Regions from separate parts of the Homo sapiens genome. Here regions 1, 3 and 4 are each linked to region 2. Evidence: promoter capture Hi-C in 16 types of primary human blood cells and fetal thymus (Javierre and others, 2016). All regions are on one chromosome and are shown on one strand. Each heading gives the region's core, a stretch centred on a gene start or on the middle of the fragment in contact. The rest is flanking DNA. Distances are from core to core; before and after follow the strand shown. Region 1 holds the start of LMBR1 (limb development membrane protein 1). Region 2 holds the start of PAXIP1 (PAX interacting protein 1). Region 3 overlaps LMBR1 (limb development membrane protein 1). Region 4 overlaps RNF32-DT (RNF32 divergent transcript).

Evidence for each region. The method cuts DNA at HindIII sites, captures the fragments that hold promoters and counts their contacts. A CHiCAGO score of 5 or more calls a contact.
Region 1: the fragment with the promoter of LMBR1 here is called in contact with the fragment with the promoter of PAXIP1 in region 2 in 1 of 17 cell types (neutrophils); the score reaches 5.8 in neutrophils.
Region 3: a fragment that was not itself captured here is called in contact with the fragment with the promoter of PAXIP1 in region 2 in 1 of 17 cell types (total B cells); the score reaches 5.1 in total B cells.
Region 4: a fragment that was not itself captured here is called in contact with the fragment with the promoter of PAXIP1 in region 2 in 1 of 17 cell types (monocytes); the score reaches 7.4 in monocytes.

What each region holds. Positions count from the first base shown.
Region 1 is chr7:156,891,133-156,894,432 of GRCh38, forward strand. It overlaps LMBR1 (limb development membrane protein 1), which reads right to left and starts at 2,051. Exons shown (of 17, transcript NM_022458.4): 1 at 1,796-2,051. The coding sequence starts at 1,861. It overlaps LOC102723795 (a long non-coding RNA gene), which reads left to right and starts at 2,266. Exons shown (of 4, transcript XR_928253.3): 1 at 2,266-2,531. RefSeq lists silencers at 1,143-1,642, 1,693-2,272. The HindIII fragment of the contact is 17,725 bases long and covers 1-3,300 here.
Region 2 is chr7:155,001,056-155,004,373 of GRCh38, forward strand. PAXIP1 (PAX interacting protein 1) reads right to left here and starts at 2,069. Exons shown (of 21, transcript NM_007349.4): 1 at 1,794-2,069. The coding sequence starts at 1,874. It overlaps PAXIP1-DT (PAXIP1 divergent transcript), which reads left to right and starts at 2,378. Exons shown (of 1, transcript NR_028090.1): 1 at 2,378-3,318. RefSeq lists silencers at 1,210-1,359, 1,530-1,899, 1,930-2,619, 2,640-2,719 and an enhancer at 2,964-3,318. The HindIII fragment of the contact is 20,481 bases long and covers 1-3,318 here.
Region 3 is chr7:156,777,100-156,780,394 of GRCh38, forward strand. The region is part of intron 5 of LMBR1 (limb development membrane protein 1); the gene reads right to left. Among named protein-coding and RNA genes, the nearest start is that of LMBR1, 110 kb to the right of the region's middle. The HindIII fragment of the contact is 208 bases long and covers 1,623-1,830 here.
Region 4 is chr7:156,632,396-156,635,386 of GRCh38, forward strand. All of the region lies in intron 1 of RNF32-DT (RNF32 divergent transcript), which reads right to left. It also overlaps the pseudogene RPL26P23. Among named protein-coding and RNA genes, the nearest start is that of RNF32-DT, 6.6 kb to the right of the region's middle. The HindIII fragment of the contact is 249 bases long and covers 1,512-1,760 here.

The DNA of each region.
Region 1 (3,300 bases), core at 801-3,300, 1.9 Mb after region 2:
GTGAGCCGAGATTGTGCCACTGCACTCCAGCCTGGGAGACAGAGCGAGACTCCATCACAAAAAAAAAAAAAAAAAAAAAATATATATATATATATATATATACACACACACACACACACACACACACATATATACATACACATATATATACACATATATATATTCATAGCCAAAACCTAGAAACTACTGAAGTGCCCATCAACAGTAAAATGAAAAATAAATTGTGCTATAGTCACACAACTACTGCACCGAGAATGAATTATAACCACATACAACATGGAGAAATTTCACAAACATTGTACAAGAAACTGGACACAGAAGAGTATATACGGTAAGATTCCATTTACATAAAGTTCAAAACTAAGCAAAAACTAATCTATGATATTAGAAGCCAGGGCAACGTTTACCCTTGGTGGAGGAGAAAGTAATTGGAAGAGGGAAAGGAATCAGTCTCTGGGATCCTAGTAAAATTGTGTTTATTTATTTATTTTTTTATAATGGTAGAGATGGGGATTCACTATGTTGCCCAGGCTGACCAGTCTCAAACTCCTGGTGGATTCAGGAGTACACAGGCGTGTTTAGTATGAAATGATCTGAAGGGTACATGTATGATTACATGAACTTATCTCTGTGTATTTTAGCTTCAATTATAAAAATTACAACTAAATGTGTACCAAATTCCACTAACTCAAATTCCACCAGCTCAGACTTTATATGTCCTCTTTATTCAAAGTATGACTTCCAAAGTGATTCTCAATTTTCAAGATCAGTGAGTACACAAATTAGATAATTCTAAAGCAGAATTTTTTCACCTCAAACCAAGTGTGACTGAATCGTAGACAACTTAGGAGAGGCGTAAATATAAACATAAAAAATTGACATATTTTACAACAGTTATGAAAACACAGATAAACCCAATTACAATACATTCTAGAGCATCATGAAAAGATAAAAACATCAAAGTAGACTTTCCAAGGTCAAGTCCGCTTCCTGACTCCTGCCAACAGCACACATGGAACATGGGCCAAAAAAGAAGCTGCTTCCCTAAGAAGTTGCTTCCATAGCAAAATGGACTTTTGCTGAGGTCCTCACTCCCAAAAATAACCAATATTCTCATCCCAAACGGTAAGGTTTCGAACTCAACCCACGTGGGGGCTGGGGGAGATGAAAGAGGGATGGAAACGTGAGGCGCCAGGAGGGCAGGAGGTGTTGACCGGGACAAGGTAACCGGCCGGGTCCAAACGCGAGAGGCGGGCGGGCTCCGCGCAGCCCGGCCCTTCCCGGACCCGCCGGGCCCACCCAGGCTCTCCGGGACGCCTGCGCATCCACCTGCCTACCTGGCCTGGCGGCGGAGCGCGGGGGCGCGCACTGGCGGGGCCGCCGTCCACACCCCGAGGCGCGAGCCGCACACCCGCCCAGAGAGGAAGCCCCTGGGGTCCCAGAGCGCGGCGCGCACCGCAGCCCTCCCCGCGGGAAGGGAAGGGCAGCACCGAGGCCGCGGGGCGGGGGCGGGGTCGGGGCTCGAACGGAGGGAGCGCGAGGGGGCAGGGGAGGCAAGAGCGGAGCGGGGGGGCAGGCAGAGGAAGCGAAGGGGAGGGGAGGGGAGAGGAGAGGTGGGGAGGGAAGGGGAGGGGAGGGGAGAGGAGGGGTGGGGAGGGAGAGCGGCAGAGGCCGGGGCGGGAGGCGCGAGGCGAGGCCCGGAGGTGAGGGGTCCGGGGACCGGGGGCCCGGGGGCGGGGACGGAGGGCCCGGGCGGGCACGCGGGACTGTCAGGGCTGCCTCGGTCCCCACGCACCGTGGACTCCCGCACTTGGCTGTGGAAGTGCTGCTCCCGCGCCGACACCTCGTCCTGCCCTTCCATCCTCCTTCATGCCCGCCGCCGCGCCGCCCGCGTCCGCGTGCTCCGCCACACCATCGTCCGCCCGCCGCAGGGGCTCGGACAGCCGCGCCGGGGACCGGAGCCGGCACGGGCCCGCGAGCCGTGTTGGAACAGGTACCGCGACCACGACACCGGCCGTCGCCTCAGCAGCCTCAGACGAGCAGCTCTGACTAAGGGAGGGCGGGCGCCGCGCAGTCGGGGGCGGGGCGGGGGCGGGGCAGGGAGGGGAGGGGGCGGTGCAGGCATACGTCAGACGAAAGGCGCCGATGCGTCAGAAAAGCGCGCCTCGCGGTCTTCCGAGCTGCTGGGCCGGGAGGCGCTGAGGGGGCGGGGCCTTGAGGTCGCGGGGCGGGGCTCCGCCCACGCTCTCAGGGGCTACCCCAGTTAAGGAGGCGCTGTCCTGGCGTCGGATGGGGACGGGGAACGCGGCGAGGGCGCTGCGACCTCTGCCCACCTGGCCCGGCCGCAGTCTCGGAGTTCCTGTTCCTCACAGGAGCTAATTATTTATGACAGCTGCATGGTTCCCCTCCCCCAGTTACTCAGTGCTTGGCACTCGGCACCCCTTACTCAGCACTCAGTACCGCACTCGGCCTCAGGGGACCTGGGCAGAGGGAAGCAGGGAGTCTCCCGCGGAAACTCTTGCTCTGCCAAAGTAGGTTGAAAGGTCGGAAATCGGTGGTTTGGGGCCGGGCTTTGGGCGGAAACCCAGCTTCTCTGGGTCTGAGAAGGGTCTTGGGCTGCCCCACCTGGAAAACGCAGATAACCGAGCTCGCTAGACCCTTGCCAAGTCCTTCCGGTAGCTCGGTCACTAGGGTCAGTTTTATGACTCTCAGTGGACCCTAAACAGCACGTAATATATGTATTTTTCACCGCCAAATATATCAAACACAATAATTCACCCTCCGTTCCCTATTATCTTTCTTTTTGTTATAAAATTTGAATTTAAGGGAATGTTTATAATTTTACCTTAGGATTTATTTGGCTACGAGGAAGTCATTTAAATTGCTAGTGGCTGCGATTTTTGTTTTTGGCATCTTTGAGAATTCTTAGGAAGTGTGAAAATCTACAAATTGCTTTCAAATGTCATTTAGTTTTTGTTTTTGTTTTTTTTTTTTTTGAGACAGAGTTTCACTCTTGTCGCCCAGGCTGGAGTGCAATGGCGATCTCTGCTCACAACAACCTCTGCCTCTTGGGTTCAAGTGATTCTCCTGCCTCAGCCTCCCGAGTAGCTGGGATTACAGGCGCCCGCCACCACGCCCAGCTAATTTTTGTATTTTTAGTAGAGACGGGGTTTCACCACGTTGGCCAAGCTGTTCTTGAACTCCTGACCTCAGGTGATCCGCCCACCTCGTCCTCCCAAAGTGCTGGGATTACAGGCCTGAGCCACCGCGCCCGGCCGTTGTTTAGATTTTTATGAATCT
Region 2 (3,318 bases), core at 819-3,318:
TCCATGCCTGCCTCATATTAGATGGTCAACATGTGAACTTATAATCCACAGTCATAAGAGTCAGAGAATCAGATGTCCAGGCTCAAAACTTTTCAGAAAATATACTGTTTCAGATGAAAGTGGTTTGCCAAGGACATTTTTAAGCACTTAGATTTGATTCAAAGTCGAGTAAATATGGTTCCAGTTCAACTTGTTCCAGGTTTTAAGTAACATTTGGTTCAAGTCCCCTATAAGAGCCAAAGTCCTAAAATGAAACACGAAGGCTAGGAAGGAGGGGGAAGAGAAAAATGGTGGATAGCAAAAAACAAAAACAAAAAAACAAACAAAAAAAAGAGGGGCGGGGGAATCATCAATACTGGAAAAAGCTAACACTGTTACAGGCACTCATCTTCATCGCTCCGTGTTCAGCAACTGTTTTACTCTGTAAATTCAAAGATAGAAGGCTTTTTTTTTTTTTTTGAGACGGAGTCTAGCTGTTGTTGCCCAGGCTGGAGTGCAGTGGCGCGATCTCGGCTCACTGCAACTTCCACCTCCCAGGTTCCAGCAATTCTCCTGCCTCAGCCTCCCGAGTAGCTGAGACCACAGGCGCCCGCCACCACGCCCGGCTAATTTTTGTATTTTTAGTAGAGATGAGGCTTCACCATGTTGGCCAGGCTGGTCTCGAACTCATGACCTCAGGTGATCCACCCGCCTTGGCCTCCCAAAGTGCTGGGATTACAGGGGTAAACCCGGCCTTGAAGTCTCTTTACCCTAAAGTTACAGGGCAAAAAGGGTCCAAAAAGTTGTTACAAGGACGAACCTCAAGAAGGCCAAGATCACTCAGCCTTCTACAATTCCTTCTACACCATCCAAGTTCATCTGCGAAATATGAGTCTCCGCCCTTCCAGGCCTAACTCTGATCACTGGGGATCCCCATCCTCCAAGGTGGGGGCCACTGATGTCACACCCAAGGCAACACAACTGTACAGCTAAACTTTTAAGAAGGAAATATTTTGAAGATTAACCTGAAGAGGATATTCAACTAAGATGCATTCCTACCACGGACTGATAACTGTGTGACATCAAACAGATATATTATTATAGGAATACTAAGGAAAACCCACAATATCCTTTGGCGTGAGCCCAAACTACACAAAATTAAATGTGTAATGTGATGGTGTTACCAGGGTACCGTAAAATTAATCGTCCAAGTGGGAAAATCAAGGAAGACGAATGCCAGCCCCCACGTGCAGGGACACAGGCTGGAAGGGAGCGCTCCTCAGCCCCGCACAGGACGGCAGCTGCCCGGGTGGCGGAGGCGGCCAAGCCGGTGCACGGCCACGACCCCCGCCGGCCGAGCGAGGCTGGGGTCCCCGCGCGAGCTGCCCCGGCTGGGGATCCCGGCGCCCCTCGTCCGCCCTCGGAGCTGCTCTCCCGGGAGCCGAGACGCCCGGCGCGGGGAATGGGGAGACGCGACCCCGCGCCCGTCCCGCTCAGCAAAGGAGCAGAGAACGAGGCGGCCCGGTGGGTCGGGGGCGGCGACCCCAGGGCCGCAGGCCGGGGGCTCAGGGCGCGCACTAGGGGCCGAGGTACAGAGCCCCAGCCGCCTTCCCTCCCGCACTCCCCCGGGCCCGGGCCTCCCGCGCCCACCCCGCGGTCGCCCCTGCCCTCAGCGCAGTCAGGCCAGCGGCCTCGGCGGACCCGACGCTCTGCGCCCGGCGCGCGCCCGCGGCAGGAGCGGGGACGGGGACGGGGACGGGGACGGACGGGGACGCGGACGGGGGAGGAGGCCGCGGCAGGGGCGGGCGCGGTACCTGCGGGTCGATGTCGCCCACCGCGTAATACTTGACCTCCCTGAACATCTCCTCAGGAACTTTGGGCGCCTGGTCCGACATGATCGCGGCGGCCCGGGAGGCTCCGCGGCGGCGCCCGGCCCCGCCCACCCCCCGCCCCCGGCCCCCGCGGCGCCCGGCGCCCCCACTCGCCCCGCCAACGGCCCTGCCCGCGCAGCCCGGGCCCGGTCCTGCGAATCGGGGTCCGCTCCCCCGCCCTCCGCGCCCCCGCCCGCGCCCGCGCCGAGCGCCCGAAGCGCGGGAGCCGCGCGCGCCCTGCGGGACGCACCATCCCGCCCCGGCCACCGAGGGGGAGCGCCGAGGAGCCGCCCGGCCTCCAGTGACGCCCCGCGCCTCTGCCGCCAGCCACGGCTCCGGGGTAGCTGGCGCCGGCAGCCCGCTCTGGCCCTTGCGGTTCCGTGGCCGCCGCTCTGCAACGAGGGGGCCCCGAGGACGAGGGGAAACCAGCTCCCCCCTCGGCGGGGCCGGAGTGAGCCGGTCCCGGGGAGGAGGGGAGCTGGCAGGCCCCTCCCGTCGCCACATGCGGCTGCTCGGGGGCGGCGCATGCGCGCGGCGGAGGGGGGGGTGGGGCCTTGGGGCCGCGAGTGGGAGCGGGAGCGGTTCTGCGGCCTCCTCGGGCTTCTTGGCCCTGGGCGGAGTGGGATTGGGTGTCCCGGCTGTTCGCAGTGGCCGCGAGTGCGGCCGGACCTGGAGTAGTACCTGAGCCGCTCTGGCCGAGCAAGGCGCGGGGCCCCGGTCTACACCGCGCTGGACCCGGCTATGCCGTGACGGAATTCCCGAGGCCGTAGCGCCACGCGAGACGCGCACTGGTGGCCTCCGCGGCGAGTCCTGGGGTCTCCGCAAGGCCTCAGTGCCCGAGCTGGGGACGTGCTGGGGGGAGGCCCGGCCCCGTCGCTGCCCGAGGCCCCGCTGTCCCGGCCGGACCGGCCTGGTCCCTGGCGTCCTGTCGGGTCCGCGCTGGAGGAGAGTCCCAGACAGCAGAGCCCGCGGTGCAGCTCCAGCCCCGGGAAGCCCCGCGCTCAACAGGTTAATACTACACAGCGGCGATTCTAATGGTCACGCTTTTATTTACAGCTCGCCTCCCTTCCGCCAAGATTCACAGAACACGGCAGAGTGGCCTCGGGATCACCTGCCCAAGACACCTGCACGACCGGAAGTTGGGAGAAGAAATTAAGGCCATGATGATGAACGCAGCCTTTCTCGTTTATTTCCAATCCCACAACAAACCGGAGTCCAGGAACTCATGGGTGATTATCGGACTATTACCTAGTCGTAAAACTGTGGAGCATTGGTGTCTAAAGGAATCTGAGACAGACCCGCAGTGTCTCCCCCACATGCCTTAAGTCACTTCTGCCAAGCAGAAAATCATTTTTAAGTAAATGTTAGTGAAATTGGTTTTAAAAAAGAGAAGGGGCCGGGCGCGGTGGCTCACGCCTGTAATCCTATCCTTTAGGAGGCCGAGGTGGGCGGATTGCCTGAGTTCAGG
Region 3 (3,295 bases), core at 477-2,976, 1.8 Mb after region 2:
ATTATCTCTGTATTTTTAGTAGAGATGGGGTTTCACGGTGTTAACCAGGATGGTCTCGATCTCCTGACCTCATGATCTGCCCACCTCAGCCTCCCAAAGTGCTGGGATTACAGGCATCAGTCACCACGCCTGGCCTTTCACAACATTTTTTAAAATGTTTTCCTTTCTTTTTTATCTATAATCTCATCCTCTACTTCCTTCCAACTACAATTGACTTTCCTCTACCTCAGTAGGACACAGCTGAGTGGGGTCTGTGAGTCCCTCACCTTCCCTCCTCTACACCTTAGCTACTGTTTCCATTTCTAATTCTTTCGTTCTATAAAAGAAAATACCTTGAATCCCTTTTCTCCTGTGGCCCAATCTCAGATGTTCATCTTCTCACATGTCATATCAGTGCTTCTCAAATGTCAACCTGCATCATAATTACCAAGGGGCCTGCCAGTTCCTGAGCATCAACCACAAAGTGGTGACTCAGTTGATTCTGATGAAGACGGTTCACAGATATACTGCTCAGTTTTTACCTAAGTGATCTTGCCTCTTCCAATAGCCAACAACTCTGAAGTTTATATCTTTAGTCCAAATCTTACTGCTGTGGCCAAGAACCATATACACCAACTGCCGTCTTTCATTAGACATCTCACCAGTACCTTAAACTTAATTCTAAGACCAAACTCATCATTTTATTCTCTATCTCTGCTCCTCCTTCAATATCACATACCTGAAAACATGACATCATTACCCACTTTGTTGTTTATGCCAGATACTTTGGAAACACCCTTGTCACCTACCTTTCCTGCTGAACCCCATACCCTACCCCCACCATACACCCTGAGCCTCGGTCCAGTCAAACACCAAGTGCTTCTGATTCTACTGTGTAATTACAACTCAAATTCATCCCTTCTTTTCCTACTGCCACCATACCCATCCAAGACGATGATTTTTCTATTATAGGTACACAAATAATAACAAGAACTGTCTGAAATACATACTCACATGTTTAAGCAGTCCATTCAGAAACATTTAGCCAAAAGAACTCTCTGTAGTCAATCATATAAATTGTTCAAAAAGTTATTTCAAATTAGTCAATATTTCTTTTGAAAGTCAGTAAATAACTCACAAAAAGAAATCTGCTCATTTCTAGTTATCGATCTACATTACAAGAGTAAATCAACAATACTAATAGAAAAGGCTGCCACGGTACAAGCCATCAAAATTATTTAATATGATTATGCTTGTCCTATGAAATATTAAGATAACTGATATAGTAAGAAAGAGCTGTTATTCTGACTTAATCCACTGGGAGGCTAGGATAGTTAAGTTTTCCCTTTTGTTAATTTTATTTTCTTTCTGTGATTAAATGAGACAAAACCTGTCCAACTTAAAATCAATTAAATACCACATGCGTGAGCTTTACATAAACCTTTTAAAAAGATAAATATGTTCATTAAATGCAAGGTGGCAAATTTTTTACCTTCAAAAACTTTGAGCTAGAGAGAAGAGAGATGATGAGACTATAGTCAGAAATTTCATTTGTTAATTCAGCTTCCACTAGTAAATATACAAGTACTCAAAATCTATAAGCTGTTATCACTATCTTTCTTGAGATCATAAAAATATTACCAAGCTTCAAGAACACAGCCTTTATGGCATGCCATGTGTGAGATTGTTAGACTTTTGGATGCCATTCTGACTACAAAGTAATGAAAAGCATTGTGAGCACTTTTATCACCACCATTAATCACCAGCAGCACAGCATATAAGCAAAAAATATGCCGACTGCTCATTTTTCCATTAAGGGTCAGAATCAGGAGCTAGAAAGCCCCGAGGGGAAGCTTCCTATCAACTCCATTCTTGCATATACTGAGCTAAAAGATGTACCAGATGTCAGAATAACTTATTAAAATGCGCTTCAAACAACAAAGTGGCAAAACACTGTAAACAAGGAAGAAGGTCTTCATTGTTCCTCTAGTGAAAAAAGTCTCCTGAATACAAGATCACAGGACTATAAGAACTTCTATTTATTAATCAATAACTGTACTTCCTTCACCTAGTTTTGAATGCTTAGATTATGTCATATATCACCAGGATTTCATGAACTTCACAATATTTTTATTTCCCAGTATGAACACTTATCCTGCCATCCCCCACAAAAAAACCCGTTAAGTTTAAATTACTTTAGCGAAACTCCTTCCTTCTGATTAAAATTGCAGTATAATAAGCAGTCAGTATATTAGAAACACCACTGAAATTAAGTACTTTTCTGCCAATGAAACATGAGTTGTTTTGAGTAAGCTATAGAATTAATCACGTTATTTCATACCAGCATTTTTTGAAATTACAACAACCTCAATATTATAAAAGGTTAAATTCGATGAAATAGATTAGTAAAGACTAAACACTTGTAGACACACAGATTTCTTTTAGATTTAAATGGGAACTAAATGGATAGTCTACTACACTCAAATGGTTATGATATAATTGCTTCTTGGAATTTTTGTGCTGGTCAATTATACATTTAATTCACATCAATGAAGTGAAAATTACAATGTACTTACAAAAGCTCTATGGAGAAGCTGTCATGTTTCTATGGTGATGAACATTTAAACAAGGTTTTGCCTGGACATCTTGCCCTCCTGTAAGGGATGTAAAAACCACTTCATACACTATGTCTCTACCCATTAGGAAGCCTGGGAAAACTTCTACATTCACAGAACATTTAAAATAAATATCAAGCTATTGTTTTCACTTAACAAAAAGGGTCTCTCAGTAACATTAAAATAAGGTTTGCTCAGCATGGCATCAAGATTGCACCAAACATATACACAGTCATCAGGGGAAGATCGGTAGAAGTACTAATAAAGAACAGAAAATAAAAGCAGGTATTAATTATTTTATTTTAAGCCATGAAAAAACTACAAATAAGCATCTCTAGAGAGTGTCAAACATTTCTCCCTTTGCTCCCAAGTAATCATTAAGAGCATACACGAAAAAGCTTTGGTCTCACGTCAGAGAAAACGGCTTTGTGAAAAGCTTTGTTAAGGTCTATAGTAAAACAGTGAAATGTTTTTTAATATTAATATGCTATGCAGTCTATTTTATACACAAATATACTTAATGTGGTCTATACAAGATGAAAAAATTAAAACTATAAGATGCTCAAGCTGTTAAAGCTGGACAAAAAGAAAGTGCTTGGGGTAAGCTAAAATAAAAACACCAACATTGCCAGTTCATTGAATTAACATCTCCATTGCATTAAAATTTGTAGGCAGAAATTCCCCATGATATTAGACAAATA
Region 4 (2,991 bases), core at 386-2,885, 1.6 Mb after region 2:
GATTATAAAAAGTTTATGGAAATTTTCTGTGGTCAAAAGATGACAAATTGGACAGATCTGTTTATAAGGTTTTATTAGCTTAGTGTTGATAATACACTATGCAAAAGTAAAATTTGGTTTTCCCTTTTGAACAAGAATTTTCATGTAGTATTATTAATAAGAGGTAGTAAAAGACTTTTGTTCACCTTTTGAGTAAACTGCAAAAGAGAGACAGAGGAGAGAAGGAGACAGATTCTGTCTCATGCTGTCTTTCTCAGATCTGTTGATTGGAAAACTGAGTCTCCCCTCTATCAAAGAAGAAAGGTTTTTGCTTTCTAACCCCTTTTATCACTTTGGCTAAATGAATATTATCTTACAATGCCTTGTGATCCTATTTTGATTATTTTAAGCCTTTGACATATTTGACAGCCTTCCCAAAATCAAATTTCAAATTGTCTTTTTTTGTTGTTACCTCAAACTAACTTTGGGATGCTACAGAGGGCCCCTGCAGCATCCAAAAGACAGAGAAACAGGATTATTTGCTATGTTAAGTTTATAAGCAAGTAAAATCCTAGAGTATCATGCCTTCAAGGAGATTCATGAAAAGGATGGAAAGGACCCTGACAAGCACTCTTGAATGCGAAGTTTCTGATGTCTTTAGGATCATATCGTTTAGACTGGGTATGAATTACCAGCACTCTAATGAACACACTGACTGGCTTATGAAACTGATAATCCAATTAGGATAAAAATTAATTGAATACCAAGGAACTACTCTGCCAGATCTTCAAGCTAAGTCAGCCAGTACTGAAATTGTTTTGATATGTAGTTTAGATGAATTCCATGATCCAAGTCAAATTTACCTATGATAACCCATCTAATAAACAGTGCTATGCACGTGAATTGGAGAAACAAAACTGATATTTAAGAAGACATAAATCTTCCATTTTGCAGCTATCACTGAAGCAGCAATCGCCAAAATGAAGTTCAATCCCTTTGCGACTTCCAACCGAAACAAGAACCACAAAAGGCATTTCAATGCACCTTCCCACATTTACAGGAAGACTATGTCTTCCCCTCTTTCCAAAGAGCTGAGACAGAAGTACAACGTGTGATCCATGCCCATCCAAAAGGATGATGAAGTTCAGGTTGTACGAGGACACTATAAAGGTTAGCCAATTGGCAGAGTAGTCCAGGTTTACAGGAAGAAATATGTCCTCTACATCGAACGGGTGCAGTGGGAAAAGGCTAATGGCACAACTGTCCATGTAGGCATTCACCCCAGCAAGGTGGTTATCACTAGGCTAAAACTGGACATAGACCGCAAAAAGATTCTTGAACAGAAAGCCAAATCTCGCCAAGTAGGAAAAGGGCAAATACAAGGAAGAAACAATTGAGAAGATGCAGGAATAAAGTAATCTTATATACAAGCTTTAAAACTTGAAATGAAAAACAAAAGGAAGATATAAATCTAATGTTAAGGATGGACTCATGGAGCCTGGACAGATGCCTGGTCCTTCCTGAATCCTTAAAGCTTCCATTACTAAAAGCTCTACACTCCAAGGCCCATCATGGAAGAGGTAAGATGATCCAAATAGAATATTGGCATGTTCTAAATTGCTAAAATAGTTTATGTCCAATGTTTGGTTTGTCAAATCTACAATCCTGGGAAGGCAATCAAAACTTCATGTACATTTCTGCTACATTATAGGCCACTGAAACATTTTTAGAGGGATTTCATTCCATTGCCATTTTCAATGCATGTTTTCTGATTGTATAGAAGCTTTTCCATTCAAAAAGTCTCGTGCTGTAACAGTAGACAAAAGGTTATTAGGAAACATGTTTCTCTCATGGGACATACCTGGAAAGATTGCTAGTGATAGAGGTACTTGTTTCATCAGACAAGTTGTAAAACAATGAGATAAGGTATCATAGGTACAATCACATCAGGCAAAGCTAACTGAATTGACTGGATTTCCTTGGTCTAAAGTACTGCGGATTGATGACAGATCCACTTCCATGTGCAAAACGTTAAGTTGATCCCTTATGCAATAGTCACTGAAGGCCTATGCTCCTAATAATAAAACCTCACACATCTTCTCCTCCTAAGCTCTGATATGACTAAGTGCTGCCAGGCTTTAATGCATTATGCCCAAGTCTATTTTCACCAGGTAAAGAAAGCTTTCCATGGTCCACTGAGGACAAACCCTACATGATCTAAAGCCTAGAAACTGACTCTTCTGGAAACATCATCAGGGAAAGACTGCCCCTGCCACTTACACTGCAGCAAAACTTCAGCACCTTGAGCCTTGGGTTTACAATCTCACAGCTGAAATGGGCCCCTCCAGACTCTTCAATCTATACACTTGTTGGAGACCTTAAGGTAAAGCTAACCAGGAAAGTTTCTCCCTAAAAGCAGACAGCATCCTAGATGTGGACAGCTTTCCCAAGATCATGGATCAATACTTTTCTGCTATCATGAGACTCTTATCTCTCAATAGTTCCTTTGCTTGTGCCTCTATGAATAGAACTGCAGAAGGGGTCTCTCCTGTGTACTTGTGGGGTATACTTTTATTTGCGGAGAATTTCATAGTCAACATTAAACATGAACAACCTTATTGTACATCAATTTTAACAAATATAGCATACAAATGGCAAATAGGGGAAACTGTTGCAAGGAGAGGGAGCTCTCTGTATTATTTGTTCAATTTATCTGTAAAATTTATTAAGAAAATAAATCTATTAATTAAAAAAATTATCTGGATGTGATCAGGAAACATCCTGTCTCTTGATATATTTAACATATTAGAGCATCAGCTGATTCAATTTTTAGAGACATTCAGCTTTAGCCAAAGTGGTTGAAACCAGTATATGTATTTATTTCCCAGGTTATTTTAGAGTTTCTACTAATAACCTGACATTTATGCTTTTACAAACCTGTCAAAACTTTCAATTAAGGCAGAAAAATCACAAATGTCTGAAAGGAGTCCACATTACCCAAACACCTTTCAT